Regions from separate parts of the Homo sapiens genome. Here all the other regions are linked to region 3. Evidence: promoter capture Hi-C in human tissues and cell types (Jung and others, 2019). All regions are on one chromosome and are shown on one strand. The core of a region is centred on a gene start or on the middle of the fragment in contact, and the rest is flanking DNA. Distances in the headings are between cores, read along the strand shown. Region 1 overlaps SLIT3 (slit guidance ligand 3). Region 2 overlaps SLIT3 (slit guidance ligand 3). Region 3 holds the start of SPDL1 (spindle apparatus coiled-coil protein 1). Region 4 overlaps SLIT3 (slit guidance ligand 3). Region 5 overlaps SLIT3 (slit guidance ligand 3). Region 6 overlaps SLIT3 (slit guidance ligand 3). Region 7 overlaps SLIT3 (slit guidance ligand 3).

Region 1 (3,755 bases), core at 970-3,469, 710 kb before region 3:
TCTCAGCCCAAGAAATGGTGTTGTCTCTATTAGCAGAAAGAGGAGTACAACCTTAAAAACAGAATGCTAATTAGCTGGGAAATCTTGGAACTGCTACTGGACCATGTGCTGTATGTACCAAACCTTATCCACTGGGTACTTACTTGTCTGGCTAGGAAGTTTTCCTGGCAGACACAGTACCCAGGAACGGATCATTGGCATTTAAAAGTAATTTAGGTTTGCGCACTTGTGCCTGGGGACTGCGTACAGAGAGAACTTTAAAGGAGAATGTTAACAATGGCAAATAATAGCTGTCGGTGTAAATGGACACATCGTAACACATCCATTTATAGAGCTGAATGCTTGTGGCAGACACAGAAGTGCTCCGTGCCGGCACGGCAGGCGCTATGCATATGGATGTGTCAGTTCTGATACAAGCCTGCTCTGAAACATCTGCTCCAATAAAAGAGACCCACATGTACCATGAGCAGTATTGCGGCAGAGATCTCAGGCTCTGAAAACCACCGTCCTGCACTCTGCACAAGCAACTTATTTATTCATCTAGCAAATATTTTTGATGACTGGCTCACGATGTCTTCACATGAGTCTCTAATAATTCTCTTTCCAGAACTGGCTGTTGCCCCCAGATGCAAAGTAGTTTATCTGGGGCTACAAGAAGGAAGGGAGAATGGCCAAGAAAGCCAGTTAAACTTTGCCCTGCTGCAGAAATCCCTAACCAGTCCCAAGGATATCTGGAAACTTTCAAAAGCCCTAAGCCCCATTCCAGGTAATCACCTCCCAGTCAACACCAACCCTTCTCCTTTCCTTTCCTCCCACAGTGAGCCCAGCTCAGACCCTCAACCTTGGAGTTGAGCTTCCAAAGTCCAGCTCTGAGTCCAGAGACCTGGCATTATCCTGATTCTCTTTTATGCTGTCCCTACCTGGTGCTGGCTTCTTGACCCTGCCACGGAATTTTACCTCAATGACAAAACCTAGCTCCTTCCTGGTGGAAGATGGCCTCAAAGAACCATCAAACTCTGTGATATGAGTAGACCTGAAAGATTATTTATCAAGTCCAGTGGTTATTTTTCAAGCCTTTTTTCTCCCCATAGGCTCTTTGTGACACAAAATCTCATGTTGCACACTAATGTCAAAAGAGGCAATTTAAATCTTTATCACTGTTGAAAATAACTATTTGTGGGCTCTTGAAGCACCAGAGTTTCTCAGAATACAAGGTGAAATTCACTGATTTTATGTCAATGATTTATTTTAATAGAAGAGGAAATCCAGACGACAGGGTTTGGTGACAGCCTGAGGGTGGTTCTAGTACTGGTTTCCCATGGCTGCTATAACGAATTACCACAAACTGAGCGTCTTAACATAACACGAATTTATTGTCTTAGAATGCTGGAGGTCAGAAGTCCTAGATCAGTTTCACTGTGCTCGTGTCAAGGTGTCAGCAGGACTGCGTTCCTTCTGGACGCCCCAGGGTACAATCTGTTTTCCTGTCTTTTCCAGGATCGGGGTTGTCCTCCTTCCCTGAATCACGTGGTCTTTTCTCTCTCTCTGCTTCCAGCACATGTCTTTTTTCTTATGAAGACCCTTCTGATTACATTGGATCCCCTCAAATAATCCAGGATAATCTATCCACTTGAAGAACCTGAATTCTTGATTTGTAATCCTTTTTGCTATGTGGAGTACACATTCACATACATTAGAGTTTAGGATGTAGGCATTTTTAGAAGAGCCATTTTTCAGCCTACCCTAGGCAGGCAGCGGTTAATAGCGGAGCTGGGACTCCTCAGTTCTTTTCGTCCTTTCCATGTCTTGGTGGGGACAAGAGGAAGGGACAGGGCAGGGAAGTTACACCCTCTTTTTCTCTGGCCTACTTTATACCTAGCCCATTAGAAGCCATATGCCGGAAGAGGTCAGCCCCACTCAAAGAAATAACAGAAAGAGTGATGAAGTTAAATATCTTTACTAGTTAGGGAGGGTCATTTCAGAGCCAGGAAACTATAAATATGACTTTTTTTGGGGGCACATATTTGTCTAGGAAGGGAAGATTTAGTCTCTAAGATGTGATAACCTGGGCCTAGTTAATTCTCAGAGATGGAATAAAAGCAGCAATAATAATTACTACTCTTCAAAACAACATCATAAAGGGGGATTATATTATTTCCACTTAACATATGGGTTAACTGAGGCTAAGGAGGAGGCATGCAATTTGCTTAAGGTCATAAAGGTGGTAAGAACCAGGATTTGACTCCAGGCAGCCTGACTCCAGAGTCTGAGCACTTCACCATTATGTCAACCTCCTCAGAGATTCTTTGGGGAAGCACAGCTACGGGAATGGGCAGGGTCTTTGGACCACTGGTCTTTTCTCTGAAGGAGAGACTTTCACACTCATACGCTTCACACTGTGGCTGGGAAGCTGAGTCAGGGCTTGGCTGTCCTGCTGACCTGCTCTATGCACTTTGACACATGGGAGTCACTTACCCTTTTTCAAAGAAGAAAAAGGAGACTCTTATCTGAGAGTATGAAAAACCAAATAAATATAAGCTGTTGTGAAAATGAAAGAATTTACCTGCATGATTAAAAGCTCACACTTGAGGGTTTGGGGGAATGGAAGGAAGGATGAATAGGTGGGACACAGGGAAATTTTAGGGCACTGACACTATTCTGTATAACACTGTAATAGTGGATACATGTCATTACACACTTGTCAAAACCCATCCAACGTACAAACCAAACGGTGAACTCTAATGTAAACTAGGGACTTTAGTTAGTAATGTATCAATATTGGCTCAGCAGTGGTAACAAACATACCACACTAAAGCAAGGTGTTAATAGCAAGAGAAACTGTATGGTTGTGTGTTGGGGGTATATGGAAACTCTCTACACTTTCCACTCAATTCTTCTGTAAACCTCAAAATGCTCTAAAAATATAAAAATGCTCTAAAAATTAAAGTCTTTTTTTTTTTTAAAGTTCGTACTTTCTTCTTTTCTTCTTCTTCTTCTTCTTTTTTTTTTTTTTTTGAGACAGAGTCTCACTCTGTCGCTCAGGCTAGAGTGCAGTGGCACAATCTCAGCTCACTACAACCTCTGCCTCCCAGGTTCAAGTGATTCTCCTGCCTCAGCCTCTCCCGAGTAGCTGGGACTACAGGCACCCGCCACCACACCCGGCTAATTTTTCGTATTTTTAGTAGAGACGGGGTTTCACCGTGTTAGCCAGGATGGTCTTGATCTCCTGACCTCATGATCCACCTGCCTTGCACTCCCAAAGTGCTGGGATTACAGGCATGAGCCACTGTGCCTGGCCAAAAGTTCATACTTTCAGACAATCTTGATGGTCTTCTTGGAAATTCTGTCCCAACTGTGACCTTCACAGCCTGCTCCTACCTTGGGTCTTGGCTGATACCAAGCCAGAAATGCTTTTCCAACACTCCCCATGAATCTGTCTGTATCTGCTGTTTCCTTCCAGGCATCCCTCCATGCTCACCAAATCTCAGGGTTTTTCCCGGCCAATCTCTCAGAAAAACACTGCCTGAGAGTCCACGCTAATCTTGGGATCCCGCTGTAGCCTTGCCATGACCCATTCTGTGGCCTTGTGGCCTTGGGAGAGTTTCTGAATTTAAGCCTCAATTTCCACCTCTATACCTAGAGGATAAGCAACTTTTCCCTAGTGGTCCTGCAAGACTGTTGCAGTAATTAAACAAGATAATACATATGGCCGGTATAGTGACTCACACTCGTAATCCCAGCATTTTGGGAGGCTT
Region 2 (3,576 bases), core at 1,037-3,536, 660 kb before region 3:
TTTCCCCTCAAAATCGGTATTTGGACATCATCTGTCATCTGACATGTGGAAAGGAAAATGATAGAAAACTTCTGTCCAACAGGACACTTCTCCACACATGATCCTGCACAGAAAATAGCTCTCCTTTCCTTGCTCTGTTCTCCCCAGCCTTCTAAAAAAATGCTTATAATCCCACACTCTATGTTCCTGAATACTTTACTTCTCTCACGCTTCCACTCCAAGGCGCATACCCAGGCTCATCCATTCACCTCACGTACAAAATGAAGAGGGCAATTTTCTGTAGTAAAGATATATGGGAGAAGCCAACCTCAAGTTCACATCTGTTAAAGCATTTCTCTGTTGGCAACATTTTTACAAGCCTCTCAAAGCTATATGCTTAATTAAAATAAAAGGGTGATATACATCATTGCACCAAGTCTTTGCTGATATAGAGGAAGGAAGGGGAAAAATGAGCGCATTAGTTCTCTTTTATTAAAAGAGTTATTTCAGCATGACATCTCAACTAAAGACTAGCCATTAGCAAAATTAAAAATTAGGTGATGTTGATTTTGGGAAATGTACACATTTAATGCCTTCCTCTTTCCTCCGGCTGCATCTCCTGTCCCGGCTCCAAGCTGCTTACTTTCCTCCCACCCGCTCAGGGAGCATCCTTGATCTTTGAGTACCCAGAACTGATTATCATAATGATGGAATGACAAGGAGAAGGAGAACACTTTGTTTATAAATGCTATCCTTCTTCAAATTAAATTAGAACAAAAAGGCTAACCTTTACTGAGCACATACTACATGTGAGACACTGGTCTAAGCTCATTTAATTATGAGCTCATTTAATTATGTAAATCACTCTTAGGAAGTATAGGGGAAGAAAAGCAATATTTATGGAACACCTGCCATATCCTAAATGCATTATGGGAATTTTCTATATTAATCCATATACCAACCATGCAAGGTTAATGAAATGAACTCCATTTTACAGATGAGCAAACTGAGGCTCTGAGAAGTAACTGGCCCCATGCTGCAGTGTTAGTAAGTCAAGGAGCAAGGTTTCAAACTGCAAATAATTAATTTCAATTCTGTATAGAACACAAGAAGTGAGGCCAGGTGCGGTGGCTCACACCTGTAATCCCAGCACTTTGGGAGGCTGAGGCAGGTGGATCATGAGGTCAGGAGATCGAGACCATCCTGGCGAACATGGTGAAACCCTGTCTCTCTTAAAAATACAAAAAATTAGCCGGGCATGGTGGCGGGTGCCTGTAGTCCCAGCTACTCGGGAGGCTGAGGCAGGAGAATGGCGTTAACCCAGGAGGCGGAGCTTGCAGTGAGCCGAGATTGTGCCACTGCACTCCAGCTTGGGCAACAGAGCGAGACTCTGTCTCAAAAAAAAAAAAAAAAAAAAGAAGTGGAAGGTGGGAACCATAGCAAGTAAAAATCCGTAGAGGTGGGAACGTGCATGATGCATTTGAGAACAGGCTGACCAAGATTAAGGAGTCTGCAAGGGGAAGAGAGAGAGAAAAAGGGCACAGATCAGAGCTGGTCTTCAACTGCAGATGCTGGAGTGCCAGGGAAAGGGCAAGGAGCTTCAGTTTGGAGGCAATGGGCAACCATCAGAAGTTTTTCCAGCAGGTACACAGGAACAGAGCTTCATGAAGCTTGATCAGGCAGTGATGTATCAACTGATGATAAGGGAGATAAATACACAGGTAAGAGGTCTGGGCCTAAGACAAAGAGGGCTCAGCTAGGGCCAGGTGCTTGTGTTGAATATGAAACTATGAGTGCTGCATGCTAGGTGAACTCTCACTATCCTAAATGCAGGAACTGAAGTGATTTCGACAAACATTTTGGGATTCCCTTAATACCTGAACATATGTAGCGAAAGTCTTAGCATCTGAACTTAGAACTGAGTAGATACGGAAAGTGAGGATACTTTCATTAAGAGGTTGAGTAGCGGAGTTACCAGATCATGTGCTTGACTAGATGGGAGCAGAGGGGACTTGTAGGAAATAAAGAGTCAAGAATCATTCCAGCTCGGAACCTTTAGGACTGGGGCAATGACAGGTGAATCCATACACTGAAGAGAAATGCCTTGATTGAGAATGTTTTGGGGGAAACAGTTTAACAAACCACAGGATGGCAGATAAACAGCAGGGTGAGCAAGCTAAGCCCCAGAACATCCTACGAGCCACAGTTCTGGGCGTCAGTCTTGAAGCTCCCCCTCCCTAATCCTTATATCTGACCAACCACCAAATTCTAGCATTTCTACTCCCAAATATCTGTTCAGTCCACTTCTCACCTCCACTGGCAGCATCCTCCCCCAAGCTACCATCCCTTCAACTGGGCTACTCAAATCCCTCTGCTTCCTGACAATTACCTTCCACCTTAAGTCACAGGGCTCTTCACAAACATAAATATGATTAGGTAACCCCCTTCCTAAATATCTTTTTTTTTTTTTTTTTTGAGATGGAGTCTCACTCTGTTGCCCAGGCTGGAGTGCAGTGGCACAGTCTCGACTCACTGCAACCTCCGCCTCCTGGGTTCAAGCAATTCTCCTGCCTCGGCCTCTCAGTTAGCTGGGATTACAGGCACCTGCCACCATGCCCAGCTAACTTTTTATATTTTTACTACAGACTGGGTTTCACCATGTTGGGCAGGCTGGTCTTGAACTCCTGACCTCGTGATCCACCCAACTTAGCCTCTCAAAGTGCTGGGATTACAGGCATGAGCCATCACGTCCTGCCAATATCTTTTAAAGGCTTCTCAGTGTCCTTAGACTAAGCCAGGCATTGGCAAACTATGGCCTGTGGGCCAAATCCAGCCTGCTGCCTGAAATAAAGGTTACCGGAACACAGCCACGCTCAATCATTTACATGTTGTCTACGGCTGCTTTTGCACCACAACAGCAGAATGGAATAGGGTCACAGAGACTGTCTGGCCTGCAAAGCCTAAAATAATATCTGGTCCTTTACAGAATGGGTTTGCCAACCACTGGACTAGATAGAAGTCTGTACCCGGGTCCACAAGGCCCTGCATGATCTGACCCGTCTGCTTCTCCAGTCTCTCTTCACACCTCTGACCCTTCTGCTCTGTCATTTCAGTCATGGTGGCAGACTTTTGGCCACTCACAGGAGCCATAGACATGGAGCTAAGTGGTCATGTGTCGGCCTGGACTGGACCATGTGTTTCTGGGGCACAGACTTTTGGGATCCAGGGCACTCCTAGCCCCCAGTCTTTGCCTGGCTTCCTCTTCCCATGTCCTGCTTCTCTCCTTCCTGCGGGTTGGGACCCAGTACCCTCCATCTCTCTCACTCCTCCCCTCTCAAACCCTTCTTTTAGGAAAGGAGTCCAAATCGACCACTTACACCTCAGTTCAATGCAAGCCAGTATAATTAATAAGGAACATTTAAGGGTGTGTAAGGGTGTGTGTGTGTGTATGTGTGTGTGTGTGTGTGTGTAGCTCACTCTGCCTCTGCCACCCAGGCTGGAGTGCAGCAGCACAATCACAGTTCACTGCAATCTTGAACTCCCAGGCTCAAGCAATCCTCCCACCTCAAAATCCCAAGTAGCTGGGATTAGAGATAC
Region 3 (3,415 bases), core at 661-3,160:
TTATGACATGGGGTAACCTCTAAGACTTTCCTAATGCTGTCCCCTCCCCTAGAATGCACCCCTCCTTAGCTCTGCCATCCTTCAAGGCCCTGCTTGAAGTGTCACATGCACTGGGAAGTTTTAAAGGAACATTTAGACAAAATATACCTCTCCCTTCACACAACTCCTTTAGTGTGGGGCACATACCACTTGCATAGCATTTACAGCCCTGTAAGTTCTATTTGTTTTTTAAAATCTCCTACTATATTGCGAGCATCTTCTAGGCAATAGTCGAGTTTACCACATCTCTGAATTCCTCCACTATGCCTAACACATTGCAGTCACTCAATTAATAGTTTAAAATACATATTTTTAAAATAGAATAGGAAGAAACATTAATAACATAGGGTATACCTTCTCTTGTAACAAAGGAGAAAAAATAAGTTCAGATCGATTTTAGATTACCTAATTGCAGCCAGTCATGATTGGCCTAAGCTAGAACAATCTTTTCCTGGCCCCTGAGTTAAGGAATCTTTGTTCAGTGATAGGGAAAATGGTATTTGTTTCATTTCTCCAAGAACATAGGTGTGATTACAAATGAATGAGCATCTGGTTCATTGGAGTCCCAGATAAATCTGTGAGACAACACTGTGAGCAATTTGTTGCCAATCTTAAAGCTCAGATCAACCCTTTGAGTCTGGCTTAGCTCAGGCAGAAATTGTAGTCTGCAAAAGAAACTGAGAAGAAGAGGGCAAGGAGAGTGTGGCATCCCAAGACATAAAGACTCAAATCAATGAGAGCAAGCAACTCTGTCAAATTTCACCAGAAGTGAGGACTAAATATTGACTACCGAATTTTGCAAGGTAGGAATCACTGGTAAACCTAACAAGAGCCACTTCATAGTATTGGTTGGGACCAAATCCTGGTTAAAGTGGGAAAAACAAACAAAAGAACAAAAGGTAAGAAAATGGAGATAATGGATGTAAAGATTTTTTTTCCCCAGAAATTTTGTTATAAAGAGAAGAAAACAAATGGGGTGGTTGCCGATTGGTGTCAAGGAGGATTTTTTAAAAAATGAAATCATGAAATGATTTTATGGCAATCACTGCAGCATGTTTATGAACTGATAGGGAAGATCCAATAGAGAAGAAAAAACTGAAGATGCAAAAAAGAGCAGTTAGAGCCAAGTTCTCAAATAGGCAAGAAAAGATGGGCTCGAAAGAACGACATGATTCATGTAACAGTTACTAGGACTCATCAGTGCTCATTAAATGTTATCTATTATTATTTCTGATCGCTTCAATTTTTGAATAGGCATCAGGGTTACAAAATATTATTATTAAAAACACATGCAAACAGCTTGGACTCTAAGACTGCATTCAATTCTAGTTCTACCACTTGGACAAGGCACTTTTTTTCTTCGGGCTTTTTCTCTGTAGAAAACGAGGAGTAATATCTGCCTCATAAGGCTGCGGGCTTAACTGAGATAATCTGTAAACTTTAACACATGGTGGGAACTTAAATATTAACGCCAGTATTACCACTGGTAGGGTGCATGAGATCGCACGATGGTGCCAAAGGTGTCTCTCCACCGCCCAGCCCAGCGACACTGTTCCCCTAGAAGGCATTGTCGTAAAAACAAAAAAAAAAAAAAAACGAACAAACAAAACACCAAAACACGGAAACTAAAAGCAAATACTTAAAAGACATGCAGGAAACCAGCCCAAGGAAAAATTTATGTGGAGCCACGTCTGCGCCTGCGCCTGCGCCAAGCCCACGGCGCGCCACTTGCACATGCGCAGTAGCTGTAGGAGGGGGTGGGCGCTCCATTGGGCGTTTCTCTTGGTTTTTCCTTTCCGCGCGGCTTGGGCGGACGTCTCGTGAGACGTGGGACTTCTCGCGGGAACTGCATTCAAATATCCCAGGCGCTTACTCGAGAGCTAGCTGAGCGAATGGGCCGGCGACTGTGGAGTTAGCGTCCTCAATGTGGACGCCCTGAGCTCCCATTAGGAGCCGCTGGCTGCGGCAGCAGGGGACTAGCGTGAGAGGTAGGGGCAAGGGGCCTGGTGGGAGGTGGGTGTGGAGAGCGGCAGTGGGGAGAGTCGAACAGGCCCTAAAGAAAGCTAGGGGCCGGGGTCTCGGCCGAGGCCTTTAGCTGAAACATCTCCTTCCCCGGAACCCTGGGGTCTTATACACTGGGTTCCGAGCCGGTCTTATCTTCCGCTGGACCACCTCGCCGCCCTCAGGGATTCTGGACAAATATGGAACGTTGGGTCGGTTGCCGGGTCCTCAAAATTATAACCGCCACTGGATCTGCGCTGTGCGGTACGGTAGCCTCTAGCCCGAACTAAGAAATGGTGCAGATGGGAGATACATATTGGGTTTCAGAGATAGCGCATAAGGAGTAATATCTCATTAATAATTTTTATAATGATTACATGTTGAAATGATGTTTTGAGTGTATTTGTTTAAATATGTAAATTAATTTTTCATCTTTGTTTACTTTTTAAATCATGATGGCTCCTAGAACATTTAAAATCACGTACATGACTCGCGTTATATTTCTGCTGGACAGCACTGCCCCAGCCGTGTGTCAGATTCTACCCTAATTGCTTTTCATTCGTTATCTCATTTAATCCTTTCAGTAACCGATTAGGTGGGTGTTATTGTGCTTGTTTTTATAGATGATTAAACCAGAAATTAAATAACTTGTCCAAGTTCATGCAGCCAGTGAGTAGTGGAGGCGGGGTAAGAACTCAGGCAGTTTGATTCCCAGAGTTTCCTGTGTCCCAAATGCTTTGTGTGTGCTATATTTTTGAGAAGCAGGACAGGAAAAATGGTTGCAGCACCATGGTTTCTAGGTAGATTCTAGTTCCCATCACACTTCGCGTCTTAACTTGCGGGTAACCCTAAGCAAGTTACTTAAAACTTTCTATGCCTCAGCTTGCATGTGTAAAATGAGGGAAATACCTTCAACCTCTTGAAGTTGTTGAGAAGATTGAATAAGAATGTGTATAAAGCGGCCGGGTGCGGTGGCTCACGCCTGTAATCCCAGCTACTCGGGAGGCTGAGGCAGGAGAATGGCGTGAACCCGGGAAGCGGAGCTTGCAGTGAGCCGAGATTGCGCCACTGCAGTCCGCAGTCTGGCCTGGGCGACAGAGCGAGACTCCGTCTCAAAAAAAAAAAAAAGAATGTGTATAAAGCACCAAGCACAATGTCTGTCACACATTAGTAGTTTTTAATCAACCACGGCTATCTCTCTTTGTAGATTGATAGGTTAACTCTTTCTCATCCATTAGACCTCTGCTGAAAAGTTACTTCCTCAGGAAAATTTTTTTGTCCATGTTCCCTTCTACGCGCTGCCCCCCAGATTAGGACAGCTCCCCCTTGTTACAGGCTCAGGTAGCATACATCTGTCTCTCTTGCACTTATCATA
Region 4 (3,610 bases), core at 1,001-3,500, 680 kb before region 3:
AGTGCAGTGGCGCGATCTCGGCTCACTGCAACCTCTGCCTCCCAGGTTCAAGTGATTCTCCTGCCTTATAGCTGGGACTATAGGTGTGCATCACCATGCCCAGCTAACTTTTGTATTTTTAGTAGAGACGGGATTTCACCATTTTGGCCAGTATGGTCTTGATCTCTTGACCTCATGATCTGCCCGCCTTGGCCTCCCAAAGTGCTGGGGTTACAGGCATGAGCCACTGTGCCTGGCCTGAAATGGATAGTCTTTCTAGATCCATGTACCTGTCCATTCATCCAAATATTAACGAACATTTGTTAAACACCGTATGCCAGGCACAGTGTCAGGCAAAAGGCATAGGTGGGGAACATTATAGATCTTTGTTTATAAAGCTTATAGAATTGTAGGGAAGATAGACGTAAGAAAACAACTGTACAGATAAGCGTTTATACTTTTGTTACGTGCTGTAAAGAAGTACAAGATGTTTGTATGATGGGAATATGCACAACAGGAGAGCTCAATGCGTGATAAGCAGTCAGAGGAAGTACAGCTTAAACTGAGAAGTGAAGGAAGAGTAGGAATTATGCAAGGGAAGGGTGTGTGTTAGTGGGGGACTGATGCAGCCGTTCTCAAAGTATGGTCTCTAGACCAGCAGCATTTGTATCATCTGGGAACTTGTTAGAAATGGGAAATGCTCAGATCTAATCTCAGCTGTTCTAAATCAGAAGCTCTGGGGTTGGGGCACAACTGCCTGTGCTTTAAATAACCCCTCCATGTGATGCTTATGAGCACCAAAGTTTGAGAATCCACTGGTGTAAAGCTTGCTGGGCAGAGGGGACACTGCACGAGGATTCTGAGGTGGCTGAGCACATGACATACATGAATTTGAGAAGCAGATGAAGGTGACTGTGGTTAGCATGGGCAGGGGAGGCTGTTGAATGAGAATGGGGGTAGTGGCTGAGTGAATGAGAATGGGAATAGCGGCTGATTAGGAGGACAGGAGGTGATGGGCAGATGGGATCTTATTTGGATATGATCTGAGGACGAGAAGGAGCCATGGAAGGGTTTCCAGCAGGAGAGAGTGTAGTTCTTCATTGACTGTTGATGAGAATCTCTAAGCCAACATCACTCAATCAGCAGACCAACAGGCACAGGTTTTCCTTGTGCTGATTTGAAGAGCCAATTAAAAAATAACTGATATTTCAGCTAATTCATATTTACATGTAAATTTTCATTTAAAAAGCCACAGACTGGCACTCTCTCACCATATGCCTCTTCCTCGTTCAGTTCTCTGCAGTGAGGGATAAGCCGTGAGTCTCCACATACACATAGGGCTGGAGATGAAAAGACAAGGAATTCACAAGCAGCCAGGCTTCCTGGGGGTGCAAACCTGGTGTCCCTGGAAGCTGAAATTTCCTGTTCCAGCACAGTTTTCCCTGTCAGGGCTTTAGTTATTTTGGCATTTTCTGATGAGTTATAAACCTCTCAGCACCTGTGTTTCATTTGAGGTGAGAGCTGGATCCCATTCTCTAGATCAGAGGGCTGAGGCTTTGCAGCATGATGCCAAGGTCACAGTAAGCCAGGGCATGACCCCTGACTTGCCTGCTCTTTGTTCTACCTGCTCGGGCAAAAAGAGGACACCTGTGGGGGCATGGAGTGAAGGACGGGGGCAGCAGGGTCTTCAGGAATGGTCCTTCTGCTGTGCATGCATGGCTGGAACACAAAGGCCTGTCTCTGGCCCTCCTGGAGGGCCTTGCCCATCTTGTTCCTTTCTTCTCCTCTCTGTTATTGTCCCTGACCTCCCACTATGATCCCCCTCTACAATTCATAAAGATCAGAGAATCATGGCGGTCCCTCCCAGCACCTCGTTCACTGGTTTGAATTATTATTAAATAACCAAATGTAGAATTGTTTTGTCAAATGGGCATTTCCATAAAACCTTGATGTACAGAAATCATCACACTGAAGCTTCTCTGATCGAAGTGGGGACACTGGGTGGGATGACAGGGGAACTGAGTTTGTTGAACCCCAGTAGCTTAGAGCACTTTGATGTATTTTGGACCTTACCAACCCCTTCAATTTACTACTGTGGAGGCTGAGGCATGAGGTAAATACCTTGTGTGAGGCACTTGGCAAAGTGGGAACTGAAACTGAGGCCCTGTTGCCCCTGTGTCCAGCGCCCTCCTCATTCTCACTCCGCTCCCAGAAGCTTAGAGATGTGCTGAGTAGGGGGAGACAATGAAGACTCAAAGTTTTGTTCGCCTGCACTTGCTGACTACCATGCCAACTTGGGGATCACACATTCTGGATTAAAAAAATAAACCTTTGTTTCCCTCCTGGACTTTTCTGCTAAGTTTGCTTCTGGTAGAAGACTGGTGAGAAGGTTCCAATGGGGGGAAATAAACCAAATAGACTAATTCTCCAGTCCTGATAATCAGTCTTTTGGTATTCACAGCAACAAATCAGCTCCCCTCAGAGAGGCAGTTATAAAATATCAAAGCCTCTGACTCTCCTCTGTGGGGCTAATCCAGAAAATCTTACTTTAGAAATAACAATAATAATAATAATAATAATAATAATACCTCATTCATCTTTACTTATCATGTGCTAGTATGTTTCTAAGCCTTTTGGCATAGCCTTCAATGTCCCTTTCTGAATATAGAAAAAACTCCCAGACTTCACTGCAAAATGCTAATTCCAGCTCTGGGGACAAGAATGACGTCAGGAAGGTGAACTGCTATGGAGATCATACATTTCTGATAGACATGTGTGTGCAATTAGAGAAACCCCAAACAAGAGGGATCAGGCCTCTGGTCTCTGGGGGAGGGCAGTTTGTGCCAGTTTCAGCAGCACAAGGACGCCCCAGGCTGCCACAGGAGTTCTAGACATTCCTGGGGTTTTCTCAATGTTACAAACTCACAGCCTTCTTTACAAAGATGGTGATATCCGGCTGGGTGTGGTGGCTCACGCCTGTAATCCTAGCGCTTTGGGAGGCTGAGGCGGGCAGATTGCCTGAGCTCAGGAGTTTGAGACCAGCCTGGGCAACATAGTAAAACCCCATCTCTACTAAAATAAAAATAAAAATAAGAAATTAGCTGGGCGTGGCAGCGTGCACCTGTAGTCCCAGCTACTTGGGAGGCTGAGACAGGCGAATTGCTCGAACCCGGGAGGCGGAGGATGCAGTGAGCTGAGATCATGCCACTGCACTCCAGCCTGGGGACAGAGCGAGACTCCATCTCCAAAAAAAAGAAAAAAAATGGGGATGTCCAAACCCTGCTCATCAACAGAGGTGCACCCATGAAGCACCATAAGAGCATAATCCCTTTCTATCCTTTTTCCTCCTCCATGTTGCTGGCTGATTGGGTGCAAATGTACCTAGATCCTCCCCAGTCAGAGGGCCTTTCTATTTTTGTCAACACCTGTATGCTTGCTGGTGCAGCCTTCTTCTTTTGAAAATTGTTTTTTCATTATCAAGATATCCTTAATATTTTGTTAATCAGAAGGCAAGTTATTCAACAGTAGTGAAGTACGATCATGTATCTGCAAAGAAAAGGCAAGGAAAGTAGTGTGTGACTATAAAATATGAGGAGTCATGGTTCAGGTCTGTACACAGACTCGGAGAGGT
Region 5 (3,690 bases), core at 572-3,071, 780 kb before region 3:
GAGATTTCTTAGCCAAGGCAGCAGCTCCATGGATCTCTGGGGCTGCCAGTCAGGTGGTGCGTGCTCTCCAGGAATCCCGTCATTCACCTGCCACTGTGGCAAGAGATTTCAGCTGGATGATGCCTCCAGGGAAAGCCACTGTCTGTAACAACGGCAATCCCCTCAGTTTTTGCAAGAGGATCCACTGCTCCCAACTGCAGGCCAATGAGCCTATGCAAGTCAGGCTAGCACTGGGTGTGAGGTCTGTGGGCTCTCTATGCAGTTCCTAATCAATTACCCTCCATCTTAATGATGGGTGCAAGAATTGAGGGAGAGACTAATCAAGGAACATGATGTGACGCTGGCCCCAAGGAGTCTGAGAATCTGATGAGAGAGACCAGCCCAAGAGCATCACAGAACCAAATTTTATTGCTACCATAATAAACATCAAGAGCCATCATTTATGGGGTCTAATTGACTATGTCTATTATCTCTTTTAATCCTTCCACTTGTGAGGTAAACCATATTGGCCCCATTTTGCAGATGAGGAAAAGAAAACCTAGAGGAATCAAATAGCTTGTCCAAAGTGACAGGGCCAGGAACGGGCAGAACTGATATCTCTGTTTCTATCCATTGGATATGCTGCCTCTATATATTTGTGAAAATGGAGGAACTGAAGGGGACTTTCTCAAAGTCACAGAACAGTTTAAGGGATTAGGACCCCAGGGCTCACACACAGAGACGTCATGCAGTCTCTGTGGAAGTAGGTATTCAGGGAAAAGCTGCAGGAGCCCAGAGAAGATGAAATATAGATGTGAATACACATAAGACATATAAATGGAGTACAAAGGTGTGGCTTCCAAACGAAGAAAAAAGAATTCCAGGCTTAGCCTGTTAAGCCTGGCAGAGATCTTGCTCTGCATCCTGCACCCCTCACACTTGCTCACTCTGGCTTTTGGTTTTCTTTTCTTCTTCTTCTTCTTTTTTTTTTTTTTTTAAGAGACAGAGTCTTGCTCTGTCACCCAGGCTAGAGTGCAGTGGTGTGATCATGACTCACTGCAACCTTGAACGCCTGGGCTCAAGTGATCCTCCCACCTCAGCTTCCTGAGTAGCTAGGACCACAGGCCCATATTACCATGCCTGGCTAATTTTTAACTTCTATTTTTGTAGAGAGAGGGGTCTCACTATGTTGGCCAGGCTTATCTCAAACTCCTGGCTTCAAGCAATCCTCCTGCCTCAGCATCCCAAAGTGCTGAGATGACAGGTGTGAGCCACCACGCCTGGCCTGGGTTTCATTCTTGTCTGCAGTTACTCAGCTTCTCAGGCTGTTTTGGGCACTGGCTGAACACCCAGCCCCTCCTGGAGTGCCAAGGCCATTGCATGATGAGGGTCAACCCTGCCCCAGGAGGCAGCAGGAATTTGTCTGCAGTGGGAGCGTGGTTGCGAACAGTTTGTGTACCTTCAATGTAAAGTAAAGGAAAGGGGAGGGATAACCATAACCACCACTACCACCAAGAGCTATGATGGATCAGGTGCTTAGTTGTTAGGCACCAGGCTGAGAGTTTCACATGGTCTGTCTGACTTAATAGTCACATTCTATGAGTCAGATCTTATTAGTTATTACCACCTCCACATTAAACATGAGAAAATTGAGGCTCAGAGAGATTAAGTCACTTGCCCAAATTCACAAAGTCAGGGAGAGGTTGAGCTGGGTCTCAAAGCCAAGTTCATCTGACTTCAAAGCCCAGACTCTCAATCACCAGGCTTTGCTGAATGCCATTTGGAGCTGAAGGGCCTTCATTTTCTTAGTCCTTTCCAGCTCATCCACAGGGAAAATGGCCCCTTTGTCATGCAAGCAAGGTTGGAAAGTGTGCACACATGTGTGCAGGTTCACATGCAGTCTCTGTGCAGCAGGTACTCCTGGAAGTCTTTGCACTTAGCCTAGTCCTGCAACCTAGAACAAGGATGCAAAGGTCCAGACTCCTAGTGTGAAAAGCTCAATGGAAAGGACAAAAAGAAGCATTTGCATCAGCAAAAACTGTCACATTTAGGGATGTGTCTGAAGCCAACAGCTGATTTAGGTCTCTCTTAACTGGCACATGTGTCTTTCTTTGTCTGGCAAACACTCTTCAGGCTGCAAACTGATTTAATAGAACTAGCATAAAAACAAACATACAAATCAAACATCTGAGTGTCTTCCCGCACCAGCAAAAACAATGGGAACATCTGATGGGGATTTCAGCCATTTGTGCTCTGTATTGATTTGCCCTAGTTCCTCAGATGCTTCCTTAATGATCTGTCATTTGCAAACATGTGACTAAACACAATATATTTCTAGCAATACAGAAGTCAACATGATGCCAGGGAGCCTGGCAGGGGCACGGCCGGCACAGGGGCATGTCTGCAAGTCACCTGGTTAAAAGGTCCTGGAGTGTGTGGAAACATTGGTGGTGGTGGTGGTGGTGATAATATGAACATTTACCATTTATTGAGGGCTTTTGATATGTCAGACACTGTCTTCCTTGCACACTGGCTCAAATTATTTTTTTCAACAGTACTATGAACCAAGTAGTATTATTAATGTACTCATTTTACAGATGAGGAAATAATGGTACGAAGAGGTCAATTTTCCTAAGGTCAGGTAGCTAGTGAATGGTGGAGCCTGAATTTGAATCCAGGTTGGTCTGGTTGAAGTCCCTGTGTTCTTAACCCTTAGGCTATCCTGCCTCCCACCCAGAAGCCACTTTTGTGGTTTCTTAACTCTTTCCCATCTCTCTCAGCCTTCCTTGACTTGGGAACTCTTGTTAGGATGTCCAGATCACGCTGAAGGAAGGAAGCCCCATGTTTATTCTTCCTTTAAGTCATCCTGGGCTAGTTGGTTGGACCAGACAACTTAGACCCCAAAGGTTCAGTTCCTGATGCTTCCCTATGCTGGAAGAAGGCTAAAAAGGAAGGTTCCTTTCAAGGTTATGCTCTGGGCCCACCTTCTGGGGCAGTCCCTTTCTGGCCTCTCTCTTTCTTTACCATTGGTCCTCATGGTTCTTCAGAAAGGTAGACTGTTGGCTGGGCGCAGTGGCTCACGCCTGTAATCCCAGCACTTTGGGAGGCTGAGGCGGTTGGATCACCTGAGGTCAGGAGTTTGAGACCAGCCTGGCCAACACGGTGAAACCCATCTCTACTAAAAATACAAAAAAATTAGCTGGGCATGGTGGTGGGTGTCTGTAATCCCAGCTACTTGGGAGGCTGAGATAGGAGAATCACTTGAACCTGGGAGGCGGAGGTTGCAGTGAGCCAAGATCACACCATTGCACTCTAGCCTGGGCAATGAGAGCAAAATTCTGTCTCAAAAAAAAGAAAGAAAGAAAGAAAGGTAAAGTGTATTAGACTCTCCCATCCAGTTTACATGTTTGATCCATAGAGAAGATGAGGAATGTAGGCATATCTGAGAAAAGCCATTCCCAACCTGTGCTGTGTGTAGACACCTGGTATTGCCTACAGAAAGCAGAGGTACAGACACAGCACAGAGCCAGATTTGCTTTGCTTATTCTGTGCATGTGCTCAGATGCCACAGAGGAAATTATTTTTTTGTCTTAGAACAAAATGGATGAAGAATTGCATGGGAACTTGAGACTAAATCGTTCTGTGATGACACACACATATACATGTGCAGATGTTTTTGCTTTTTACATTCTTTTTAGTAGCTTCCAAACA
Region 6 (3,581 bases), core at 179-2,678, 840 kb before region 3:
CGAAGACGGATCAAAGCTAGGCCTCTTGGACCAAATAGCCAAATTGTGAACGCAAATAAAAAGTTCTTGAAGAAAATTAAAAGTGCTAGTCCAATATACACATGAATCATGAGAAAGACTTATTGCTGACATGCAAAAACTTTTAGCGGTCTGGATAGAAAAATCAAACCAGCTAAACATTCCCTCAAGCCAAAGCCTAATCCAGAGCAAGGCCCTAACTCTCCTTAATTCCGTGAAGGCTGACAGAGGTGAGAAAACTGCAGAAGAAAAGTTTGAAGCTAGCAATAGTTGGTTCATGAGGTTTAAGAAAAGAAGCCGGCTGGGCGCAGCGGCTCACACATGTAATCCCAGCACTCTGGGAATCCGGGGCGGGTGGATCATAAGGTCAGGAGATCGAGACCATCCTGGCTAACATGGTGTAACCCTGTCTCCACTAAAAATACAAAAAATTAGCCGGGCGTGGTGGCGGGCTCCTGTAGTCCCAGCTAAGGGGGAGGCTGAGGCAGGAGAATGGCATTAACCCAGGAGGTGGAGCTTGCAGTGAGCCGAGATTGCGCCACGGCACTCCAGCCTGGGTGAAAGAGCGAGACTCCATCTCAAAACAAAACGAAACAAAACAAAAGAAGCTATCTTCATAACAGGAAAGTGTAAAGTAAAGCAGCAAGTGCTGACGGAGAAGCTGTAGCAAGTTATCCAGATGATCTAGCTAAGATAATTGATGAAGGTGGCCACATTAAACAACAGATCTTCCGTGGAGACAAAATAGCCTTTTATTAAAAGAAGTAGCCATCTAAGACTTTCACAGATAGAGAGGAGAAGTCAATGCCTGGTTTCAAAGCTTCAAAGGGCAGGCTGACTTTCTTGTTAGGGGCCACTGCTGATGGTGACTTGAAGTTGAAGCCAATACTCATTTACCGTTCTGAAAATCCTAGGGCTTTTATTATGCTAAATCTACTCTGCCTGTGCTGTAGAAATATAGCAACAAAGACTGGATGATGGCATGTCTGTTTATGGCATATTTTGCTGAATATTTTAAGCCCATCGTTGAGACCTGCTGCACAAACATAAAGATTTCTTTCAAAATATTACTGCTCACTGACAATGTACCTGGTCATCTAAGAGCTCTCATGGAGATGTACACACAGATTAATGTTGTTTTCATGTCTGCTAACATAACATCCATTCTGCAGCCCATGGATCAAGGAGTAATTTCAACTTTCAAGTCTTATTATTTAAGAAATATATTTTGTAAGGCCATAACTGCCATAGATGGTGATTCCTCTGATGGATTTGGGCAAAGTAAACTGAAAAGCTTTTGGAAAGGATTCACTGTTCTAGATGCCATTTGAACATTTGTGATTCATGGTAGGAGGTCAAAATAGCAACATTAATAGGAGTTTGGAAGAAGTTGACTCCAACCATATGGATGACCTTGAGGGGTTCAAGACTTCAGTGGAGGAAGTAGCTGCAGATATGGTGAAAATAGTGAGAACTAGAATTAGAAGTGGAGCCTGAAGATGTGACTGAATTGCTGCAATCTCAGGCTAAAACTTGAGCAGATAAGGAGTTGCTTCTTATAGATGAGGAAAGAAATTGGTTTCTTGAAATGGAATCTACTTTTGGTGAAGATGCTGTGAACGTTGTTGAAATGACAACAAAGGATTTAGAATATTATATAACCTCAGTTGATAAAGTAGTAGCAGGATTTGAGAGGACTGACTCCAATTTTTTTTTTTTTTGAGACAGAGTCTCACTTTATTGCCCAAGCTGGAGTGCAGTGGCACGATCTTGGCTCACTGCAACTTCTGCCTCCCAGGTTCAAGCCATTCTCATACCTCAGCCTCCCCAGTAGCTGGAATCACAGGCGTATGCCACCATGCCCTACTAATTTTTGTATTTTCAGTAGAGATGGGGTTTCACCATGTTGGCCAGGCTGGTCTTGAACTTCTGACCTCAAGTGATCCACCTGCCTTGGCCTCCCAAAGTGCTGGGATTACAGGCGTGAGCCACGGCACCTGACCTTGACTCCAATTTTAAAAGAACTTCTACTATGGGAAAATGATGTTAAACAGCATTGTGTACTGCAGAGAAATCTTTCATGAAGAAGACTCCATTGATGTGACAAACCTCACTACTGTCTTATTTTAAGAAATTGCCATAGCCACCCAATGTTGGCCACCACCACCCTGATCAGATAGCAGCCATCAACATCAAGACAAGACCCCCGACTAGGAAAAAGATTATAACGCGCTGGAGGCTTAGGGGATCATTAGCATTTTTTAGCAATAAAGCATTTTTGAATTAAGGTATGTACATTGGTACATTGGTTTTTTTCCAACACAATGAGATTGCACACTTAATAGACTACGGTATAGTATAAACATAACTTCGATATGCACTGGGAAACCAAAACATTTGTGCGACTTGCTTCATTGCAGTTTGTGCTTTATGGTGGTCTGGAACTGAACCCACAATATCTCCAAGGTATGCCTGTACGTGCTAACCTGGCCCAGAAAAGGGGATGTGCATGGGGCCTGGCAAAAGAGATGTCAAAGTCAAGCATCAGATGTGTGTGGGTGTGGTGATGTGTGGTGTGGTGGTATGTGGGTGTGGTGGTGTGGGTGTGGTGGTATGTGGTGTGTGAGTGTGGTGGTGTGGGTGTGTGGTGGTGTGTGGTGTGTGAGTGTGGTGGTGTGGGTGTGTGGTGTCTGGTGGTGTGTAGTGTGTGAGTGTGGTGGTGTGTGGTGGTGTGGGTGTGGCAGTGTGTGGTGGTGTGCGGTGGTGTGGGTGTGGTGGTGTGTGGTGGTGTGTGGTGTGTGAGTGTGGTGGCGTGGGTGTGGCGGTGTGTGGTGGTGTGCGGTGGTGTGGGTGTGGTGGTGTGTGGTGGTGTGTGGTGTGTGAGTGTGGTGGTGTGGGTGTGGTGTGTAGTATGGTGGTGTGGTGGTGTGTAGTGGTGTGGGTGTGTGGTGTGTGAGTGTGGTGGTATGGTGGTGTGTGGTGGTGTGGGTGTGGTGGTGTGTGGTGTGGGTGTGGCGGTGTGTGGTGGTGTGCGGTGGTGTGGGTGTGGCGGTGTGTGGTGGTGTGTGGTGTGTGAGTGTGGTGGTGTGGGTGTGGCGGTGTGTGGTGTGTGAGTGTGGTGGTGTGGGTGTGGTGGTGTGTGGTGTGTGAGTGTGGTGGTGTGGGTGTGGCGGTGTGTGGTGGTGTGTGGTGTGTGAGTGTGGTGGTGTGGGTGTGGTGGTGTGTGGTGTGTGAGTGTGGTGGTGTGGGTGTGGTGGTGTGTGGTGTGTGGTGGTGTGGATGTGTGGTGTGTGGTGTGGTGGTGTGTGGTGTGGGTTTGTGGGTGTGTTGCTGCTCAGGCACTTAGGCTGTTCCTGTTGCCTCTCCCTGGCTCTGCCCGCTCCCATACAGGGCCTTTGCTTATGCAGCAACTTCAGCCAGAGCACTGCCTCCTCCCTCCTAGTGACCTGCCCCTCACCCCTCAGATTGCGGCTCTAGCATCATTTCACCAGGGCAGCTTTCTCAGAGCTTCATGTCTCTGTCACACTTCTCACTTTGCGTGTCCTAGCAACCTTGTACCTCTC
Region 7 (3,367 bases), core at 321-2,820, 550 kb before region 3:
AATCTGTGAATTATGTACTTCAGAGCTCAGGGGGACTTGAACTATCACCTAGAACTGCGTCTACTCTTAACTCAGGGTCATACATGTCCCAGAGGACCATTGGTCAGCTTCAGGGCTGTGTAGGCTCCCACAAATCCCATTGTGCGCTTACCAGCTGGGTGAACTGAGATGAATTCTCTTGTCTTTGCCACGGTTTTCTCATCTAGAAACTGGGCATTGTGACCTCCTAGGATTCTTGCAAGGATTAAATATAACACATGTAAAGTGCCTTGTACAGTGCCTGGCACATAGTTGGCACTTAATAAATGCTATAATCATCATTGCTTGTTATTACTATATTATTATTCAGGCAGTCTAACAATTGTGAGCAATATTTTGCATTTATTTGCACATGTCCACTTTCCTAGGAAGAGGTCCATACATTTCATTTTCATTTCCCCCAAAAGGAGAAGAACCACTAAGCTAGCTAGACTAATAACTTCTTTAATTGATGAGTAAAATCCTACCCAGAGGTTTAAGTATTTTTTCGACAATCACATGGTAACCTAGAGGCAAGGTGAGAGCTAGAACCCAAAATGTGTTGATTCCACTGCTTTCCAAAATTTTGGCAACACTAGCAAAAGCAGCCCAGGCCTTGCACAAAAGTGACCTATAAATAAATGTAGAATAGGCCTGGACATATATTGGTGGCTTCAAGGCAAAGGGAGTGTTCAGGGGTCTGGAGGTGTGTGATGGCTGTGGAGCTGTGAAAACACCACTTGACATGTATAATCAACAGAAGAGGGGGTGTGCAAACCAGATAGGAGGAGGAATGGGTGGGGACTCCAGGAAGAAAACACCCCAGTTGCAAATTCTTCTGCATTTCCCATGCAATAGCAAAGCAAGTTGATCCCATAAGCTATCCGTAAGCTTCACCAAATCCAAGAGAATCTATGCATAGCTGACTTAGGAAACAGTAGGTATTTGTTGAATTCTGAGTGATTGCACCACTTTCTCCGAGAAGACATAGCCACAGGACTTTGAGGTTTGCACTCTTTTTGTTAGCCAGATTCCTTAAAATACTCTGATATTTTCCTAGTTCATTTGTTCTCAAAGGGTGGCCCTGGGCCAGCACTATAGCTGTCATTGGGGGAACTTGTTAGAAATGCAAATTTTGGGTCCTCTCCTCGGACCTACTGCATCAGAGACTGTGGGGTGGGGCCCAGCAATCTGTTTTAACAGGGTTTCCAGGTAATTCTGGTGTGCACTCAACTTTGAGAACCACTAAGTTAATTGGTGTGGCAGAGAAACTAAGCAAGAAATGAGGGCTTGAAAAAGCCTTCCAGCAACTGAATCCCTAGAATACATTTTTTGTTTGTTTGTTTGAAATAAACTGGAACTCGATTAGTAACTTACATCTTCCTGTGTTTTGCAAACAAGAGATCTTGGAAGGAAGTAGAAAATCAATTTCAAGGCCTTTCATCTCAGTTACAATGACACATTCATTTTAGCATTGTGTGGGGAGGGAGGGAAGGAGAGAGCAGGCAGGCAGTGGTTGGGTTTGTGGAGAGGAATACACAATTCCAATGGAATCCACTGTAATTTAGGGGCAATTAGCATCTGCACATTCTCCATTCATGAGGCTCCATTAATCCAGTTAATCCTCATCTTCTAATCAAAAACAAACATCCTTGAGTGTACTTGAGATCCTTTTAACACATTCTCCCCACCTGAATGCTGTCCTCTGCCTTGTAATCCAGGGCTTTTAGGAACCACTTCAGCTTTTGGAAAGAGGGGAGCTACCCACCACCTTGGCTGGGTCCTGCCAGCCCCTTGGAAACCTGCCCTCTCCTAGGCTGCACCCTCCCCTGAAACTTGTTCTTTGACTAGACCTGCCCTCTCCCTGCTATTATTTAAGTCATTCTTGATACTTCTTTGCTATTCTGGGCAGCCTTCCCTGACGACTTTCTGACTGCCCCTTGGCTAAACACACAAATGCTTGGATAATACTAATGCCTTGCATTGCTAAGTCACTTCACTGTTTCCAAAGGCCTTTCCTAGTCCACTTTTCATTTGATCCTCCAAACTATCATAATATCATTACTATTTCTCCACTTCCCACCCACTCTCACCCTCCCTCTTCAATTTACAGATGGGGGCCACTGAGGCTTTCAGAGATTTTGTGACCTACCAAACTGGCACAGCTAGTAAATGGATGACAAGGTAGGTTCAAACCCAGGACTCCTGATCCGCAGGCGGAGATCTATTATAGAACACTGTTTCTTTCTGACCACCCACCTAAATCCATAATGCCAATGAATAATGCATTTGTCCTTTCACTGTGTTTATGTCTTTGGAATGTTTTTGTATCTATGGAAATCAGTGCATCTTCCTTAATTTTGAAGCCTCTAAGGAGAAGAAACCCTATCTGTGTAACTCAGGCTCAAATAATACTGTAAAGTACTTCTACCTATTCAAAATATTTTCATCTTTGTCTTATTTTATCCACAAAACAATCATATGAGTTAAGGAGGATAAACAATATTACATCTATTTAATGGTAAGAAAACTGAAGTTTGGCCAATAAAAGCAACTTATTGGCTCGGAAGTAGAACGTGGTATGGTTGGGAATAGAATACGGCTTTCTAATTTCTGGTTCTGTATTTATCTATTAGATATGTGGTTTTAAAATTGTGACCCTCGGGCTCTTGCATGCTTCTTCTTGGAAAGGCGAGGCAGACAGGGCTCAGGGTATTCTACCACTGGTTTAACTAAAAGCTTTCCTCTCCTGAATAGCAACTTAGAAGCCCCTGACAGGTCCTCATTTCCTGTCTTGAGTATCCAGCATAGTAGTCGTACTAGTCAGGTGTAAGCAGTGGCTTCAGGATAATATCCTTGCAGATGGCCCTGGGAAGCCTTGAAGTTTTTGCAAGCATTTCAGACTCCCTGGCTTGTGATCAGTGTAGGCAGTGAAAACTGCACTTTGTCCTCAGAGTAGGAAAGTTACCCCTCAGCCATTTCATATTCTGTTCATTAATTCAACAAATATTTGTTGAGTTACTATGTGCTAAGTACTGTGTTTGCGTCTGGGACTAGAGGGGTAGAAAAAAAATATGGAGGTGATTTCACCTCTACCCTCATAGAAGATGCCTTCTGATAGATCTGAAACAGATAATCTTACCAATAAATAATTCCAAATCGTAATAAAAGCTATGCAGGAAAGATCTGTTTGTTGCATGAAAGAGCAAGGAGTGGGGTCTCACCCAAACAGGAGGTCAGGGAATTACAGTTCATGGAGGTTACACCGAAGCTAGATTTTCTTGGGAGGGCACACCTGCTGCATGGAACAGCACCGTCTGGCATGATGCAGCAAGTGTTTGTCCTGGTT

The links. Contacts are between HindIII fragments. The study calls those that stand out against the background at their distance.
Region 1: a fragment that was not itself captured here is called in contact with the fragment with the promoter of SPDL1 in region 3 in 1 of the 25 tissues and cell types used here (dorsolateral prefrontal cortex).
Region 2: a contact is called between a fragment that was not itself captured here and the fragment with the promoter of SPDL1 in region 3, in 3 of the 25 tissues and cell types used here (dorsolateral prefrontal cortex, mesendoderm cells and thymus).
Region 4: a contact is called between a fragment that was not itself captured here and the fragment with the promoter of SPDL1 in region 3, in 1 of the 25 tissues and cell types used here (mesenchymal stem cells).
Region 5: a fragment that was not itself captured here is called in contact with the fragment with the promoter of SPDL1 in region 3 in 2 of the 25 tissues and cell types used here (adrenal gland and pancreas).
Region 6: a contact is called between a fragment that was not itself captured here and the fragment with the promoter of SPDL1 in region 3, in 1 of the 25 tissues and cell types used here (mesenchymal stem cells).
Region 7: a contact is called between a fragment that was not itself captured here and the fragment with the promoter of SPDL1 in region 3, in 2 of the 25 tissues and cell types used here (aorta and hippocampus).

What each region holds. Positions count from the first base shown.
Region 1 is chr5:168,869,642-168,873,396 of GRCh38, forward strand. All of the region lies in intron 5 of SLIT3 (slit guidance ligand 3), which reads right to left. Among named protein-coding and RNA genes, the nearest start is that of MIR218-2, 100 kb to the left of the region's middle. The HindIII fragment of the contact is 7,819 bases long and covers 1-3,755 here.
Region 2 is chr5:168,921,081-168,924,656 of GRCh38, forward strand. The region is part of intron 4 of SLIT3 (slit guidance ligand 3); the gene reads right to left. Among named protein-coding and RNA genes, the nearest start is that of SLIT3-AS1, 90 kb to the right of the region's middle. The HindIII fragment of the contact is 6,328 bases long and covers 1-3,576 here.
Region 3 is chr5:169,581,863-169,585,277 of GRCh38, forward strand. It overlaps SPDL1 (spindle apparatus coiled-coil protein 1), which reads left to right and starts at 1,911. Exons shown (of 12, transcript NM_017785.5): 1 at 1,911-2,027. It overlaps LOC105377714 (a long non-coding RNA gene), which reads right to left and starts at 1,799. Exons shown (of 3, transcript XR_941200.3): 1 at 1,521-1,799. RefSeq lists an enhancer at 1,538-2,538. The HindIII fragment of the contact is 9,913 bases long and covers 1-3,415 here.
Region 4 is chr5:168,901,952-168,905,561 of GRCh38, forward strand. The region is part of intron 4 of SLIT3 (slit guidance ligand 3); the gene reads right to left. Among named protein-coding and RNA genes, the nearest start is that of SLIT3-AS1, 110 kb to the right of the region's middle. The HindIII fragment of the contact is 3,318 bases long and covers 592-3,610 here.
Region 5 is chr5:168,797,264-168,800,953 of GRCh38, forward strand. All of the region lies in intron 9 of SLIT3 (slit guidance ligand 3), which reads right to left. Among named protein-coding and RNA genes, the nearest start is that of MIR218-2, 31 kb to the left of the region's middle. The HindIII fragment of the contact is 8,813 bases long and covers 1-3,690 here.
Region 6 is chr5:168,743,691-168,747,271 of GRCh38, forward strand. The region is part of intron 20 of SLIT3 (slit guidance ligand 3); the gene reads right to left. Among named protein-coding and RNA genes, the nearest start is that of MIR218-2, 23 kb to the right of the region's middle. RefSeq lists enhancers at 2,311-2,883, 2,884-3,455. The HindIII fragment of the contact is 5,187 bases long and covers 1-3,581 here.
Region 7 is chr5:169,028,255-169,031,621 of GRCh38, forward strand. All of the region lies in intron 4 of SLIT3 (slit guidance ligand 3), which reads right to left. SLIT3-AS1 (SLIT3 antisense RNA 1) reads left to right here. Exons shown (of 5, transcript NR_109897.1): 3 at 2,132-2,202. Among named protein-coding and RNA genes, the nearest start is that of SLIT3-AS1, 17 kb to the left of the region's middle. The HindIII fragment of the contact is 4,139 bases long and covers 1-3,367 here.